2 separate regions of the Homo sapiens genome follow, and region 1 is linked to region 2. The links are contacts of gene promoters, found by promoter capture Hi-C in blood cells and fetal thymus (Javierre and others, 2016). All regions are on one chromosome and are shown on one strand. Each heading gives the region's core, a stretch centred on a gene start or on the middle of the fragment in contact. The rest is flanking DNA. Distances are from core to core; before and after follow the strand shown. Region 1 overlaps PAN2 (poly(A) specific ribonuclease subunit PAN2). Region 2 holds the start of DDIT3 (DNA damage inducible transcript 3).

Evidence for each region. The method cuts DNA at HindIII sites, captures the fragments that hold promoters and counts their contacts. A CHiCAGO score of 5 or more calls a contact.
Region 1: a fragment that was not itself captured here is called in contact with the fragment with the promoter of DDIT3 in region 2 in 1 of 17 cell types (monocytes); the score reaches 5.4 in monocytes.

The regions. Positions count from the first base shown.
Region 1 is chr12:56,315,041-56,319,486 of GRCh38, reverse strand. PAN2 (poly(A) specific ribonuclease subunit PAN2) reads left to right here. Exons shown (of 26, transcript NM_014871.6): 23 at 1-179; 24 at 306-399; 25 at 1,053-1,250; 26 at 1,844-2,551. The coding sequence ends at 1,878. CNPY2 (canopy FGF signaling regulator 2) reads left to right here and starts at 3,499. Exons shown (of 6, transcript NM_014255.7): 1 at 3,499-3,666; 2 at 4,245-4,357. The coding sequence starts at 4,270. RefSeq lists enhancers at 3,146-3,295, 3,376-3,425, 2,926-3,514. The HindIII fragment of the contact is 2,294 bases long and covers 104-2,397 here.
Region 2 is chr12:57,519,010-57,523,539 of GRCh38, reverse strand. It overlaps DDIT3 (DNA damage inducible transcript 3), which reads left to right and starts at 3,026. Exons shown (of 4, transcript NM_004083.6): 1 at 3,026-3,122. LOC128125814 reads left to right here and starts at 3,060. Exons shown (of 2, transcript NM_001414991.1): 1 at 3,060-3,122. The coding sequence starts at 3,060. MBD6 (methyl-CpG binding domain protein 6) reads right to left here and starts at 716. Exons shown (of 13, transcript NM_052897.4): 1 at 529-716. It overlaps MIR616 (microRNA 616), which reads left to right and starts at 4,281; the gene lies at 4,281-4,377. RefSeq lists silencers at 485-884, 2,599-3,058 and enhancers at 1,308-2,268, 2,269-3,228, 2,055-3,254, 3,129-3,258, 3,229-4,190 and 4 more. The HindIII fragment of the contact is 9,909 bases long and covers 1-4,530 here.

The sequences.
Region 1 (4,446 bases), core at 1-2,500, 1.2 Mb after region 2:
TGGTGGATTACTTGACTCAATACTCGGGTATAAAGCCTGGTGACCTCGATGCCAAAATTTCCTCCAAGCACCTAACAACTCTCAAGTCTACCTACTTAAAGCTTCGTTTTCTCATTGACATTGGAGTCAAGTTTGTGGGTCATGGCCTGCAGAAGGACTTCCGGGTCATCAACCTGATGGTTTGGCAGGGCTCTTTTAAGAGTCTTCTTGTGAGAGTGGGCCCCTCAGGGTATACATTGTGCCTTTAGAGAATGGGGAATTATAGGTCCCCTACCTTAAGTCTCCCCCTCTTTTATCCTTGCCAGGTGCCCAAGGACCAAGTCCTTGACACTGTCTACCTGTTCCATATGCCCCGAAAACGAATGATTTCCCTGCGATTCCTTGCTTGGTACTTTCTGGGTGAGTTGCTCTGCCTTGTAGGCCCCTGCTACATTAATAGCAGAAGCAGCCATTTAAAAAAAAAGAAATCATGTTCTTTGCGGCAACATGGATGGAGCTGTGGGCCATCATACTAAGTGAACTAACTCAGAAACAGAAAATCAAATACCACATATTCTCACTTATAAGTTGGAACTAAACAATGAGTACATATGGACATAAGAATGACATTAGGGACTCTAAAAGTTGGGGTGGTGGGTGAGGGGTGAGGGTTGAAAATTACGTATTGGGTGCATAGTTCACTATTTGCATATTAGGGATACCAGAAGCCCAGTCCCCACCAGTACACGATACACCCATGTAACAAACATGCACATGTACCCCAAATCTAAAATAAAATTTAAATATAAAAAATAAAAGCATGGGGGGAAAAGAAAAAGTAGGAAAAGTGTTAGAGGACAAAATGGGAGTAGGGGAGACCCTCAGTTAGTGGTGACAGTTACTAATGGATTTAATTAACTTCAATATCCCTTCTGTGCACTGAGGAAGATGTCTGACAATTTTCCTTAAGGGCAGTCAGGCTTTTTAGTTTTCTGGAGTCAGGTAGGAGTGGGGAGACATGTTCCTACCTCCCTTTGCTGGGTCCCAAACTATTCCACCTTTACTTACCCCAGACCTGAAGATTCAAGGGGAAACCCATGACAGTATTGAGGATGCCCGCACAGCCCTTCAGCTGTACCGAAAGTATCTGGAGCTAAGCAAAAATGGCACTGAGCCTGAGTCTTTCCACAAGGTGCTCAAGGGTCTTTATGAGAAGGGCAGAAAGATGGACTGGAAGGTGCCTGAGCCTGAGGGCCAAACAAGTCCCAAGAGTAAGACCTGGGATGGGACAAGGGAAACTGGACTGGGTGGATTTTGTATTTTGTTTGTTTGTGACAGGGTCTCACTCTGTCACCCAGGCTGAAGTGCAGTAGCGTGATTACAGCTCACTGCAGCCTCGACTTCCTGGGCTCAAGTGATTCTCCCACCTCAGCCTCCCAAGTACCTGGGACAACAGGCACACACCACCACACCCAGCTAATTTTTGTACTTTTTGTAGAAACAGGATTTTGCCATGTTGCCCAGGCTGGTCTTAAACTCCTGGGCTCAAGCGATCCACCCACCTTGGGCTCACAAAGTGCTGGGATTACAGGCATGAGCCTGAGCGCCCCCAATTGGGTGGATTTTGATTGCACATATGGAGAATAGCACTTAACAGTTTACAAAGCACTTCATCCTCCTAACATTCAGTAAAATACATTTTATCGAAACTCTCCATTAACTATAACTTCCTCTTGCCCAAGTCTAAAATGTTCAGGGAAGGTCCATGCCCTTTTTTCTCTTGCATTTTTCCTTCATAGGAAGTATGAGAAGATGCTTTTTCTCCACTCAGCTTGAATCATGCTTTTGGTTTTGTCTCTGACAGATGCAGCTGTCTTCTCCTCAGTGCTGGCGCTCTGACTACCCTTCCCAAAGAACCACGGCCCTCTCCCTTTACTGTTCTATAGCCCCAGAACTGGGAGATGGCTTCCTAAGTTGGCTATACCTTGTCCACTTCCAGTACTGGACGTGCTCAGGGTCTAGGGTCACAGATGGTGCTATTAATTGAACTGGAACACAGCAGAATTGTTGCAAAGGTTCTAGGAGCCAGATTCATTCCTTCTTCATTCTTTGCAAAACAGTGGTACAGACATGGAGTCTAGAATTGACCCAGATGGAAAGTAATTGGTATTCTTAATATCCTGGGTGACTAATATCCAGGCAGAGAAGCTCCTGGAACCATAACTGTAAGTTCCTAGCTGGCTAGGGATTGAAGTCCTGGACAGTGACAGAGGATACCACAGTAGTTCAAGACTTAGCACAAGTCACCAACTGCTTCAGGGATACCTGGAGGGGCCAGCAAGTAGAGTGTTGGTGGCCCAAGCAAACCAGTGTTGCCAATACCATTGCCAAAAGGGCCTTTGGATCCTGGACAAAGCTTGGCTGCCGGCTTCATTTATTCCTGCTGATGGCTGAGAAGCATCTGTCTTCCATCCCACTTGCCTGTCCCAAGTTTTGTTCCATTTTTTAAAAATTTGTTGTAAACTGCATGTTTTATAAAATAAAAATAAAATATCGTTTGTTATTTATCTCATTAGAGAACTGCTAGTGTGGGTTCTCTGGCTTCAGTCTTCCTCTCCTTCCTTTGAAGGTAAAGGTCCGGAATCCAAAGTTATGGATATGAAAGGGTATAATTAGGCCGGGCGCGGTGGCTCACTTCTGTAATCCTAGCACTTTGGGAGGCAGAGGTGGGTGGAACACGAGGTCAGGAGTTAAAGACCAGCCTGACCAAGATGGTGAAACCCCGTCTCTACTAAAAATACAAAAATTAGCTGGGAGTGGTGGATGGCGACTGTAACCCTAGCTGAGGCAGAAAATTGCTTCAACCCGGGAGGCGGAGGTTGCAGTGAGCCGAGATCACGCCACTGTATGCCAGCCTGGGCGATAGGGCGAGACTCCGTCTCAAAAAAAGGGGAAAAAGGTATAATTTATGCCTTTTCTGGGCAATGCTGGGTCTTTGCTATAGCTGCCCAGTACCCTAAGTCAGACTGAAGATGTACAGTATGGTTTCCGTTAATTGTGTAAGCCGACAAACTACAGGTCCCAGGATAGCTTGAGACTTGTAGTTGCTCACAAAGATGGGTCCGGTGCTGCGGTGCTTCCTGGGAGATGTAGTTTCCTGTGTATTGAAACCTGGACTGCTCGCTGGCCGGCAGCGCACCGTTTTGAAGGTCCTAGCCCACCTGGGCTGGCTCACGCGCACGACTAGCCGCTCCCATACAGCACGCCCGGACTCTGTCGTCGCTTAAGGCCACTCCTATTCTACGGCTGACCCCTGGTGGTCACGTGGATCTGTTCGCCACGCAAGTCTGGGTCCTTCGGCGATTGACCGGGGTCCTTGCTGTTCGGGAGCCTCTCCTAAGCTGCCTGTTCGCGCGAGAGTTTGGAGGGGCGGGTTTGGGGTCGGTGTCTGATTGGGGCTCGCACCGCAGCACGCTGGAGTCCCGCTTAGGTACCAGTTAGCGTCAGGGGAGCTGGGTCAGGCGGTCGCCGGGACACCCCGTGTGTGGCAGGCGGCGAAGCGCTCTGGAGAATCCCGGACAGCCCTGCTCCCTGCAGCCAGGTGTAGTTTCGGGAGCCACTGGGGCCAAAGTGAGAGTCCAGCGGTCTTCCAGCGCTTGGGCCACGGCGGCGGCCCTGGGAGCAGAGGTGGGACGGATGCGGGCGGCGAGGCGCTGGGCGCTGAGGGTTGGGGATGGACTGAAGCGAAAGCAATGGCGGAGTCCTTAGAAAGGGGGCTGGTGTCCGTACGGGTAATCACTTACGGGCTGGAGGTGGGGACGCAGGAATCTTCGGTGCAGGATCCAAATGGGCCCTAGTTATTGCTCTCCTCGCTGGCCTCCTGGCCTGACTGAGGGCTCCCTGCCGGCAGTTCCCTAGTGCCTGTAGTCCTCACGTAATCGCCAACTTACCTCCTGTAGCTGCCACAAAGCCCCGTGAACCCTAGGCATGCAGTGCTAAAGTACCAACACTTAGGGCCTCACCTATCCACGTAGAGTCTGGGGCTGAGCCGCAAGTCCTGAGCTCGCGCTCCCACCCACCACCCTGGGGGAATCAGAGCCCTCAAGCGCTGGAACAGAGAAGCCCCTTTGTGTCCCGGCCATTTCCTGGAAAGTAGAGCCAGAGTCACAATGAGGCCTTTGAAAGCCTTGGGGTGAGGATTGGGGGGGTCAGGGAAAAATGGAGTCGGCTCCTCACACTTATGTTTTATTCCCACTCAAACCCAGGTGGAGCGACCCCATTACGCTAAAGATGAAAGGCTGGGGTTGGCTGGCCCTGCTTCTGGGGGCCCTGCTGGGAACCGCCTGGGCTCGGAGGAGCCAGGATCTCCACTGTGGAGGTAAAGGCACAACGGGAAAAAGAAGTGGAGGAAGCAGAGCCTTGGGAGGGCATGAGATCCAAGGCCTGGGAGAAGGATGAATGGAAATC
Region 2 (4,530 bases), core at 1,777-4,276:
CGGGTCTTAAGAGGTGAGGATCACAGCTCAGTCTTCTCCCAGGATCCTGGGAAGCTCCTGATTTTCCCTCAAGCCTACGGCAAAGGGATTCAGAACCTCCTATTCCACTGGCTTCCGATTATCTCCAAGAGAGCCTGTCCTCCGATAGAAGGGGAAGCCCCTCCAACCTGCAGGTATCCTCCCCAGCCTCACCATTGCTCCCACCCCACACTGGCGGCTTCCAAACTTTCCCTCTCACAACAAGGCGCCCTGTCACCCAGACTGCTTCCCTCAGCTTGAGGAGGAGGGGAAGGCGCACGAAGTAGGAAGGAACTTGGGGAGAGGGCGGGCGGAGGGTGGGCGAAGCACTGAGGGGAGGGCGGTGAGGAAGGCAGAAGTCTGGCAGTGAGAGGGAGAAGCGGCGGGGGCAGGTGAGGGCGGGGGAGTGGGGATGGGGCCGGGGAAAGGGGCCGAGAGGACGCGGAGGGGGCAGAGGGTAGGGACGGGAGGGGGAGGGGCAGGGTGGGGGGGGCCGGGCCCCGCACTCACCGCGGCCCATGGTTCGGCCGGCCCCGCCCTGCGCAGTCGCGGCCCAGAGGGTGAGTGGGAGGGGGTGGGAGGAGGGTCGGTGGAGCCCGAGCCTCCGGTACGGCCCCGGCCGGTCCTAGCAGGAAGCGCCGCTGCCGCCGCCGCGGATCACCGAGCGGCCTCCCGCGCATGCGCCATGGGGGCCAGGGGCAGCCCTGGGGATTCCGTTCCCAGAAGGCACTGCGCAGGCTGCTGCCGCTGCCGCCGCCGCCGTCGCTGCCGCAGCCGCCGCCGCAGGAGCCGCCGCCTCCGCCGCTGCCCGGACGGGAGAGGGGCGGGGCCGGGCCCCCGCCCAGCGGACAGCGACGAGCCAACTGGAGGGGCTGCAGTGCGCATGCGGGAGCGCGCCTACCCCTCCCCCACAACCCCCCATTAATCCCCAAGAGAACAAACACCCCACGCGGCCCCCCCGCCCTCCGCGGAAGGATCTGCGCCTCTTCCCAGGCCACTGGTGGCCAATCCCAGCCCTCCTCAGGGAGGGGCCCCTTCCAAAGCCACAGTCTGTTGCGGGAACCAGGAATGCCAGGTCCGGGAGGGGCCAGGCCCCGAAAGATGAAAGTCGCGACTTGCCCTGCCCCGCCCCAAAGGCTTCCCGGGTAGTGTGCTGGGACTTGACCCGCCTCCCCAGGTCAACATGTCACAACACGACCTCAGCCTGTCAAGTCACATGACCTCTGCCTGTCACTGACAACCTGGTCTGTCTTTAGGCCAGGGGAGACCATCTGGTCCACCCTCCACACTACCCCCATTTTCAGAGAGGAAATGGAGGTGTGGAGCAGCGGAGCAGCCTAACCAAAGACCTGTCATTGCCACACCACTCCAGTCACAACCGGCCTTGTGACAGTTTCTACTTAAACTCTGGCTGCCCCCATGAGGGTATGACAGGATATGTAACAGGCCACCACATGGCCTCTGTTTTCAAGGCACAAGAAAAATACTTTGCATTCTGGGTGGTGCGTTTTACTTTTGGTCAAGTTGCCTCCAAGTTCATGGTTCTCATTTTACCTTCACAACTTTTATCTTTAATTTACAAACAAGGACGGTAAGATCCCTTGGCAAGTGATGGGGAGTTGAGTCTAAAATCGCGGCTCCGGTCTCCCCAGTCCAGGGCAGTCCTGCGCTGAAGTGCACTCACACGTCCCGGGATGAGACTCCGCTGTAAATCTCGACCCGAACACCTAGGAGGCAGGCCTGTGCCGCGCTCCTCACACAGGGAGTCACAGGACTTGCTGTCTGGTACAGCAAGAGAGGGTCTTGGAGAAAGCCATAGGAGTACCGTGGGGGAAAATAGGTGGCCAAACAGAATCGGGTCCACTGGGCAAAATACATGACTTCTGGCAGGCTGAGGGCTTACCAACTACAAGGTAAAAGTCAAGGGCGCTGTTCTGAGAGAAGCGGAAAATGACTACCAAGGGATTCCAGTACCTCGGCCCCTTTTGGGAGATTTACGGGGCTAGAACAGGAGACCACCCCCGTTTTTTTGTTTGTTTGTTTTGTTTTTTGTTTTTGGTGAAACGTAGTCTCGCTCTGTCACCCAGGCTGGAGTGCAGTGGCGCGATCTCGGTCACTGCAACATCCGCCTCCAGGGTTCAAGCGATTCTTCTGCCTCTGCCTCCAGAGTAGCTGGGATTACAGGCGCGCATCACCACACCCGGCTAATTTTTGTATTTTTAGTAGAGACGGGGTTTCACCATGTTGGTCAGGCTGATCTCGAACTCCTGACCTCAAGTGATCCGCTCTCCTCAGCCTCCCAAAGTGCTGGGATTACAGGCGTAAGCCACTGAGCCCGGCCAGGAGACCTCTTTAAGAAGACTCGAGATGTCGACAATCCCAGTGGATGGATACCAACTTTAAAAAGAAAAGTTCAAAAGGCCTATGTGCCCATTAGCTGGGAGGGGCCAAGAAATATGGGAGTCCCTTATAGTGGGGGTAAAACGGCGGGTAAAGCTAGGTGGGCGGAACAGCAGCTTCTGGGGGAGACAAGCGGCAAAGAGGCTCACGACCGACTAGGGGCGACCAAGGCTGATAGCCGTTGGGGCCGTTGGGCGCCGGGAGCTGGCGCCCCGCCCTCTCTCCTCTCCCCCACCCTCCGCACCTCCCACCACCCTCGGTGTCCCCTGCGCGTGCGCGTGCAGACACCGGTTGCCAAACATTGCATCATCCCCGCCCCCCTTTCCTCCCCTCCCCCCCCGCTACACTCCCCTCCGCGCGCGCGCATGACTCACCCACCTCCTCCGTGAAGCCTCGTGACCCAAAGCCACTTCCGGGTCCGACACTACGTCGACCCCCTAGCGAGAGGGAGCGACGGGGGCGGTGCCGCGGGGCTCCTGAGTGGCGGATGCGAGGGACGGGGCGGGGCCAATGCCGGCGTGCCACTTTCTGATTGGTAGGTTTTGGGGTCCCGCCCCTGAGAGGAGGGCAAGGCCATGGTAAAAGATTACAGCCAGGCGCTCCCGAGGTCAGAGACTTAAGTCTAAGGCACTGAGCGTATCATGTTAAAGATGAGCGGGTGGCAGCGACAGAGCCAAAATCAGAGCTGGAACCTGAGGAGAGAGGCGAGTACTGATTCCCATCTACCTTTTACCCTCCCGTCTCCTCAAAGTTGGGGCGTCCGCTCTTTAGGATCGGCCTCACTCCTCCACAGTGAAGTTAGGGACCGTCCGAGAGAGGAATGGGGAGAGTCCCTTATTCTGGGGTGGTGCTTACAAACCCCTATTGCTTCGGACGACGGCGTCTCTCCACCCCTGCCCGGAGCCGGAACACGGGCCCTGCTCTGTGCTGCTGGGCAAAGGGACCTCGGTTGCCCTTGGGAAATTCATTCTTTCCCGTAGCCAACTTCAGGCCTCATCGTTAGGCCTGTCCGCGGGGAGGCAGGTCAGCAGGACACACCCCCGCTCTAAGACTGGGTGACCATCGCTCAGGCCGTTTCCGCCGCTTCGCCACCAGCGGGCCTTCTCCCTACCCCACCCCCAATTCTGTCTCAGTCTCAGTGCCTCTGGTGTCAGCATGGCCACCTTGGTAGCTGGGGCTACTGGACCCTGCAGCGGATAGGGGAACCTTGAGGAGACACAAGCCTTTGGGAGGGGTGCCGATGGACAGGGAGTGGTGTGTTTTCCTTTTGCCGTAGAGGTCTCTGGGCCTCCTGCACAAGAGAGCAGCCTGGATCTCTTAAGTGTAGGAGGCCATTTGGGGTCTCCCCAGGGTATTGTCCTTCCCTCGGGATTAGTCCCTGCCTCTTTAACCCGGTCCTGTCTCCCAGCTAATCTCTGTGTAACCATTGCATCAGGCCAGCCCCGTTTGGCTCTGCAGCCTTCTGACCTGAGGCTCTACTGCTGATGAAAGCCAAGTCCCACACACTGGAAGGCAAGGGAGGGTTCCCCAGGGAGGACAGCCCTGCAGAGAAATACTTCGGGCAATATTGCATCTCTAGCCCCTAGGGATCAGCAGCTGCCACTCTGCTTCTGCCCCTTCCCTATAAGAGAGACTGGGGGGAGTTTATCCATTCATTCTTAACAAATACTTAATGAGGACCTACTGTGTGCCACACAGTTTGGGGCTCAGGGTACATCCTTGAGCAAGAGGAAAAAATCATCTCAGTGGGAGGCCTACAGTAAACAAAATATAAGTGCCACGGAGAAAGCTAAAGCAGAGAAAGGAATGGAGAATGTTCAGGATGGAGGTCAGAGTGTTACATCAGGTGGTCAGGAATTACCTTAGGTAATTCCTCCACTCAAAACCCTTCAGTGACTTCCATGACATGAAATAGGAAGTCATTGGAGGGTTTGAGCAGAGGAATGACCTGTTTTAAAAGGCTCACTCAGGCTGCTGTATGGTGAATAGAGTTGCGGAGGGGTGGCAAGAGAAGAAATGGGAAGACCTTCTGCAGTCAGAAAGTTTCTGCAGTAATTTAGAGATGGTAGTGAATTGATCTAGATTGGAAACAATGGAATTAGAAGTGTTTAG